Linked DNA regions of Homo sapiens: region 1 is linked to region 2. The links are contacts of gene promoters, found by promoter capture Hi-C in human tissues and cell types (Jung and others, 2019). All regions are on one chromosome and are shown on one strand. The core of a region is centred on a gene start or on the middle of the fragment in contact, and the rest is flanking DNA. Distances in the headings are between cores, read along the strand shown.

The links. Contacts are between HindIII fragments. The study calls those that stand out against the background at their distance.
Region 1: a contact is called between a fragment that was not itself captured here and the fragment with the promoter of BARX1 in region 2, in 1 of the 25 tissues and cell types used here (lymphoblastoid cells).

Annotation. Positions count from the first base shown.
Region 1 is chr9:93,805,220-93,808,870 of GRCh38, reverse strand. It overlaps LOC101928014 (a long non-coding RNA gene), which reads right to left and starts at 522. Exons shown (of 4, transcript NR_188449.1): 1 at 307-522. RefSeq lists an enhancer at 488-1,208. The HindIII fragment of the contact is 8,042 bases long and covers 1-3,651 here.
Region 2 is chr9:93,952,962-93,956,764 of GRCh38, reverse strand. BARX1 (BARX homeobox 1) reads left to right here and starts at 1,410. Exons shown (of 4, transcript NM_021570.4): 1 at 1,410-1,841; 2 at 3,578-3,803. The coding sequence starts at 1,619. It overlaps BARX1-DT (BARX1 divergent transcript), which reads right to left and starts at 931. Exons shown (of 2, transcript NR_144455.1): 1 at 1-931. LOC124902216 (a long non-coding RNA gene) reads right to left here and starts at 1,239. Exons shown (of 3, transcript XR_007061672.1): 1 at 1,125-1,239. RefSeq lists enhancers at 354-884, 885-1,416, 2,828-3,391, 3,392-3,803. The HindIII fragment of the contact is 32,678 bases long and covers 1-3,803 here.

The DNA.
Region 1 (3,651 bases), core at 300-2,799, 150 kb after region 2:
GGAGGACTGAGAGGGCCCCAATCCTCTATAAACTCTGCTGCCTTATCCTCTCCTTGTCCCCAACAGCCTGAGCTTGTAGAAGACCTGTGGGATGTGGCTGTGAGGTTGAGAGTGAGCCTTTCCCAAGGATATTGTAGCTGGAAACTGCTGCACCTGCAGCAAACCCTACCCCCCGACCCCGACTTCTCAGCCCAAACCCCACCCCCAACCCTGACTTCTCAGCCCAAACCCCATCCCCCTACCCTGACTTCTCAGCCCACAGCCAATCGCTCCCTCTGTCCTTTAACAGTGGAGCTGGGTTCATACCAGGCAGGTCACAAAGCCATCACCATGGTCCTTTCTTAGAAAGTCCTTGATGCTGAGAGCTCTGCTGCTTGGAGATAACAAATGGCAGTGGGTTCGTGTTAGGGCCATTGGGTCTGTCCTTGATGACACAGAGTGAGCAGACCTAACTTTTAAAAAGTGATAGGTCCATGAAATCCCATGACTAGGAGCTCCTGGGCCCGCTGGCCCTAAGAGCCTTCAGAGGGGAGGGTCAACAGATTGAGGCTGTGTTCATGCCCTGTGTCCTCACAGTGAGGTCCTGGCCAAGTGGCCTTGGCAACAGCAGAGCCCCATGCTGTCCACTAGATACTTTTACATCAAAGCCGGTGTCTCTGACTGTCAGGAGCCATCCAAGCCTCAGCTGAAGAGGCAATGTCTTGTTTATTTTAAATTTTGGATCGATAATGCAGTACCTGGTTCAAAATGTGAAAAATACCAAATGGCAAACAGTGAACAATCTCCATCCCATCCCCTGGTCCAGCCACCTTCTGTGGCTGTGGGGCAGTTGCTGTCCCTCTGGGCTTTAGTTTCTGAGTCTCTGAGATGAATTAGGCCCGTCCCTCACACTCATTCTAGAGGAACCCATGGACACTGCACTGAAGCCCCCAGCCCTGGAGCCTCCAGCACAGGCCAGCAGGGCCTCTGCCAGCTTTGGGGACTGGACGCTCGGCTCCAAGCAGCCATCACCACCCACCCACCCGCGGCCACGGGTCAGGTTTCCATCCGCCGTCATTAGGCAGATGTCAAACTGGAAGGGGCAGCAGTAATTTGGACAATTACAGCCGTTATTATTGCTTCCTCTTCTTAAACGGGGGCTAAATTACTCACTTAAACACAACCACCAGTCACTCCCCACAGGCGGAGGGGACAATGGTGGGGGAGGGGACACATGGGAGGGGAAGGGACAGCTGGCAGGGGAGGATTCAGAAACTCCAGCAGCCCATCTGTCTGTGACTGCCCTGTTTGAGCGCCTACTGTGTGACATCAGCATGTCTGTCCACACTGCCTGGGACTTGGTGGTATCATTGTCAGGGGAGGTGAAGACTGGTGCCCTGGGGGAGGGGGCGGTCATGCTGCCCTGCTGGTCACTGCAGGACCAGGCTGGAAGCAGGTTAGGGTTCCAAGTCTAGAGTGGCATTGCCCCCTCTGAAACCTCTACATGGTGTGAGCTGAGCATCTGCCCAGGGCAGGCTTAAGAGGGGCCAGGAAGCCTCAGGCTGGCCCAGGATGCCCACTGCCCAGGAGGAGATAAACCTGCAGCCGAGGCTCATTTCTCAGGGATCAGGCAGGCCAAGGTGGCTCTTCTGTGGATGTAGGCAGGCAGACCTGGGCACCTGGCTCCCTGGCTGAGTGACAAATGGGGACAAGGACCCTAGTGGGCACCATGCAGGGAGGGAAGGTAAGTCTAGGCCTATTCCACTTCTTAGAGCTAATCACATCCACACCCGAAAGTACAGACAAAAGTCACTCTAATGACAGGAAGCATTTATGTAGCACCTGCTATGTGTCCAGCACTCTGTTTATATATAGTAGCTAATTGAATCTTCAGAACAAAGCTTTGAGGTAGGCATTCTTATCACCCTCATTTTACAGAGGAGGCTGAGGTACAGAGAGCCTAATTAACTTACCAGGGGTCACACAGCACCTCAGGAGAGAGCTGACCCCCTTCCTAGAGCCATAGGATGAGCACCTTAACCTGCTCAGTTGCAGGCTGCTATGAAACAGAAGGAAACCTTGCAAGGTATTTCCTTTTAAAAAATTTTTAATGTATTTATTTATTTATTCTTAAAAAAATGGGATACATGTGCAGAATGTGCAGGTTTGTTACCCAGGTATACATGTGCCATGGTGGTTTGCTGCACCTATTGGTCCATCCTCTAAGTTTCCTCTCCTCACCCCCTACTCCCCAACAGGCCCTGATGTGTGTTGTTCTCCTGTCTGTGTCCATGTGTTCTTTTTTTTTTTTTTTTTTTTTTTGAGGCGGAGTCTTGCTCTGTCACCCAGGCTGCAGTGCAGTGGCGCGATCTCGGCTCACTGTAGGCTCCGCCTCCTGGGTTCATGCCATTCTCCTGCCTCAGCCTCCCGAGTATTCAACTCCCACTTATGAGTGAGAAAAGGCAGTGTTTGGTTTTCTGTTCCTGTGTTAGTTTTCTGAGGATGATGGCTTCTAGCTTCATCCATGTCCCTGCAAAGGACATGATCTTCCTTTTTATGGCTGCATAGTATTCCATGGTATGTATGTGCCACATTTTCTTTATCCAGTCTATCATTGATTTGGGTTGGTTCCATGTCTTTGCTATTGTAAACAGTGCTGCAGCAAACATACATGTGCATGTGTCTTTATAGTACAATGATTTATATTCCTTTGGGTATATACCCAGTCACGGGATTTCTGGGCCAAATGGTATTTCTGGTTCTAGATCCTTGAGGAATCGCCATACTGTTTTCCACAATGGTTGAACCAATTTACATTCCCACCAACAGTGTAAAAGCATTCCTATTTCTCCCTAGCCCAGCCAGCATCTATTGTTTCCTAACTTTTTAATAATCACCATTCTGACTGACGTGAGATGGTATCTCATTGTGGTCTTGATTTGCATTTCTCTGATGATCAGTGATGTTGAGCTCTTTTTAATGTTTGTTGGAGGCAATGTTTAATGGAGGCAAAGTGGAGGTCCCTGAGCTTCCAGGCCTGCATAAATGTCTTCCTTTGAGAAGTGTTTGTTCATATCCTTTGCCCACTTTTTGATGGGGTTGGTTTTTTTTTTCTTTTAAATATGTTTAAGTTCTTGTAAATTCTGAATATTAGGCCTTTGTCAGATGGGTACGTTGCAAAACCTTTCTCCCATTCTGTAGGTTGCCTGCTCACTCTGATGATACTTTCTTTCTTTAGTTTAGTTAGATCCCATTTGTCAATTTTGGCTATTGTTGCAATTGCTTTTGGCGTTTTTGTCATGAAGTCTTTGCACATGCCTATGTCCTGAAAGGTATTGCCTAGGTTTATAGGTTTTCTTCTAGGGTGCTTTATGGTTTGGGGTTTTACATTTAAATCTTTAATCCATCTTGAGTTAATTTTTGTATAAGGTGTAAGAAAGGGGTCCAGTTTCAGTTTTCTGCAAATGGCTAGCCAGTTTTCCCAGCACAATTTACTGAATAGGAGATCCTTTCTCCATTGCTTGTTTTTATCAGGTTTGTCAAAGATCAGATGGTTGTAGATGTGTGGTGTTATTTCTGAGGCATCCGTTCTGTTCCATTGGTCTACATATCTGTTTTGGTACCAGTACCATGCTGTTTTGGTTACTGTAGCCTTGTAGCATAGTTTGAAGT
Region 2 (3,803 bases), core at 161-2,660:
AGGAGGTAGGCCCTGTGATTCCTGAGAAGGAGGAGGGCAGATGCTCCTCCCCCAACCTCCTGGGGACACTTCTCCCCTCTTGCCTGGAGGAACTGTTTTCTCTCCAAACAGACCTAAGGGCTCCCAGGGTGCAGGACCCTCGGAGTGCAGGACCCCCTCACTGAGTTCTCACAGTCTCTCTGGAGCCAAAGGTCAGCATCTCCTCAGGACAGGTAAGGAAACAGGCCCAGAAAGGGTCAGTGGTTTCACCAGTAGTGGCAGGACCAAAGAGAGGAGTTCAGCGTAGGGTAGCTTTGGGGTTGTTCACTCCACGGCTTGGGCTTATACTCTTCTAAGGATGGAAAGAAAGATCTAGAGAAGGTACTGCCAACTTCCTCCACCATGTTGGAGCTTTTGAGGCTCCGCAATGGAGCCAGGTCCCACCAGAGTTTGGTCTTTACACTCTCAGAGCACCCACTGGCCCCCTGGCCCCAACTCCGCCCAGTAACAGTTTCTTGATGCCCCAAAGCTGGGAAAAGGCAAAGCTGCATCCTTCCCTTCTCCTCGAATCCTTTTCCTTTTCTAACTAGGGGGATGTAACCAGCCTACAGTCTTCTGGGGGCTGTCAAGGAGGATGTGTCCATGGATCACTTGAATTTCCAATTCAAGCAAATCTCGGCTGGAGAACATTTTTCTCTCAGGGCAGCCCGGAGAGAAATGAGGCCGTACATGGTAAACTGAGGCAGAGGTGGGAGGGGTGCACAGGTGCCGCTACCGCTCTGCCCCTTGCATCCCTGAACGCTGCCTCACCCTTGCCGGGTTGGCGGTGTTGAGCCCGGGACTGGAGGCTGCTTGAGACCACCTCCTTCCCAGCTGAGGAGCGCGGCCTTTGCCCCTCCTCCTCCCGACCTTTCCGGGGCTACCTAAAAGCCGATCAAGCCGCCGGTTTTCTAGCTGTTCCCATTTCTTTACCGCCCCCTTCCTCTGCCCCGCCTGCCTCTGTGCCCTCCGTCACGTCACAGCCCGCTGGCTCTCACGCCTCTTTTGGTCTCTCTGCGCACATCTCGGTGGCGTCTCTGGTGCCCTCACATCACTGTCTGGAATCTTGTTTGGCCCACGCCGTCTGCCTCTGCCCCTTCTCTCACCTGTGTCGTTTGATCCCTCCGACTCTCGTCTCTGGGGGTCTTGCCTCCCGAACTCTCCGGCTCTCTCCTTCCAGGGCGTGCGCTCCGCTCAGTCTCCCTCGGTCTCGGTCGGCCGGCCTCTTTCACGTGGCCCCCTCCTTTTTGGCCTCCCTTCCGCCTCCCTCCCTTCTGGGTCCCTCCCTCCGGCTCAGCCTAGGGGTTGGGGGCGGCGGCGCGGGGCGGGGCGGGGCGGGGCGGTGACGCGGGGCTGGCCGGGCAAGAGGCGCGGCGGCGTGGGGAGGGGGCGCAGTCCCGGGTTCGACCGGCCGAGCCCCGCGCGCCCCGCCCGCGCCCTGCGCCTCCGCCCGGCCGGCCGGCGGGGGAGGGGGCATGAGCCGGCGCCCGCGCGCCGCCCCGAGCTGCGGGCCGGCCTAGAGCCCCGCGCGGGCCCCGCGCCGGAGCCAAGCCGTCGCCGCCGCCGCCGCCAAACCGCGGGCGCAGCAGTGGGCGCCGCGATGCAGCGGCCGGGGGAGCCGGGCGCCGCGCGCTTCGGCCCGCCCGAGGGCTGCGCGGACCACCGGCCGCACCGCTATCGCAGCTTCATGATTGAGGAGATCCTCACGGAGCCACCCGGGCCCAAGGGCGCCGCGCCCGCAGCCGCCGCTGCCGCGGCGGGCGAGCTGCTGAAGTTCGGCGTGCAGGCGCTGCTGGCGGCGCGGCCCTTCCACAGCCACCTGGGTACGTGTGGCGGCCGCGGGGTCGCGGGCCGGGCTTGGCGGGAGACAGCGAGCTGAACCGCGGGGGCGCCCCGAGCCTCCTCCGGCATCGAAGCAGCCCCGGGAAGCTGCTCTGGGAGCGCAGGTTCTGGGACCGTCTCTCGGAGCCCTCCAGGCGGGAGGCGGAGGGTGCAAGCTCCAGGCCTCACAGAAACCAGGCCTCGTGCCCGCGGGCCGCCCGGGGAGGGTGTTCGCTCTTTCCTTCACTGCTTCCCTTCGGCCTCCAGCCCGGGGACCCCGAGTGAGCATCCCCAGTGCAGGCGCACTGCCAGGCTACGGACTCTCGTGGGTGGAAGCGACCTCAGGCCACGGGCGCCTGGGCTTCGCCGCAGAGGGATGGCCGGGAGTGGCCGCGGCTGCCCAACCCAGGGAAGTCGGACCTCTGGGGAGGAGGCCTGCGCTCCCGAGGGCTGGGTGCTGACGCGGGCCCAAGCCGGCCCGGAGTCCCCGGGAGCTCCAGCGGGCGAGGAACGCGGCCTTGGCCGCAGTGCGGACCTGCTTCGGCCTTGCCTTGGGGCCAGAGGCCTGACTGTGAGCAGCTGCCTGGCTGTCCCTTCTGGTTTCAGGTCGGCTGGGCCTCTGCAGGGCTTGAACGGCCTGCGCAGACCTTTTCAGCTTCTGCCCTTTCTTCTAATTTGGCGGGGCCTGCTCTGCCCTGATGGTGCTGTCTCCATCGCACTCCACCCTCGTCTTGTCTTTCCCTATCTCGCTTTCCAACCGTCTGCCGGTCGGCCTCCCTCGCTTCTCTCATTGGGGTCGGCCTGCCTCCCATCTCCCACCTTTTCCCTACGGGTCCTCTGCCCCACATTTACCTGCGCCTTGCCCTGCCCTTTCCGACTCCAGCCAGGCTAGGACTCGCACCTCAGTGACAGGCCTGTCGGGGAAGGGAGGCTCCTACGCTGTAGCCGGGACCCCAGCCCTTCAAGTCGCCTTCCCTGCACCCCCCCACCTCCTAGTCGGTGCTCCCTAGCCTGGAGACGGCAGGGCCAGCGCGCTCCTTCTAAGTCCAGCTGGGACTCGGCCATTCGGCTACCTTTCGTCTCCATCTGCTCTGTTGCTACTAATTCGTTTGAAGCGGGCACACAATCATTTTAGGACTGAAGAAAATGGAAACATCTGCATGGGGAAGCGTCTGAAAATAGAAAACGTGAACAATAATTTCCAGGTTCTCAGGGTACTTTGGAATTTCCGGGAAGCACCCAACTCCGGCCCAGATGACTCCTGGCCACCGCATGGCTGTTGTGCCACGCACGGAAGAGCAAATGTGCACGCTCCGTGCATGTTCTTTTTCTAACGCAGCAAGGCTGATTTGGTTGGAGCAAACGCCATCTTCTTAGGACCAGCTGCCGTTTTCTTTTTGGTTTCTACTTTCCCCGAAAGACAAGACACACTCCGAGTTTCTCGCAGCTGCAAACATGTTCATCAGGAACCCCGAGATCTCAGAGGCAGCTGAGGCCTGGGGAACTCCAGGACAGAACACGGACAGGGTCGAGGAGATACTCCCTCCCAAATCTGGGGAACGGCAACGTTGAGGAGGGTCTCCATCTGCGCCACCGGCGCCGACCGGCAGGGCGTGGAGGTTTTGCGCTGGGAGGCACTGGCCAAGCGCGAGCACCCCCGCGGCACGTGGTGCGGCAGTCCCTGGGGCAGAGGAGCGCGGCCGTAGCTCACCCGGGTCCTCATTCTCTTTCTTCGCAGCCGTGCTGAAGGCCGAGCAGGCGGCGGTGTTCAAGTTCCCACTGGCGCCGCTGGGCTGTTCAGGGCTGAGCTCTGCGTTGCTGGCGGCAGGGCCCGGGCTGCCCGGCGCCGCGGGTGCGCCACACCTGCCGCTCGAGTTGCAGCTCCGCGGGAAGCTGGAGGCGGCAGGCCCTGGGGAGCCAGGCACCAAAGCCAAGAAGGGGCGTCGGAGCCGCACTGTGTTCAC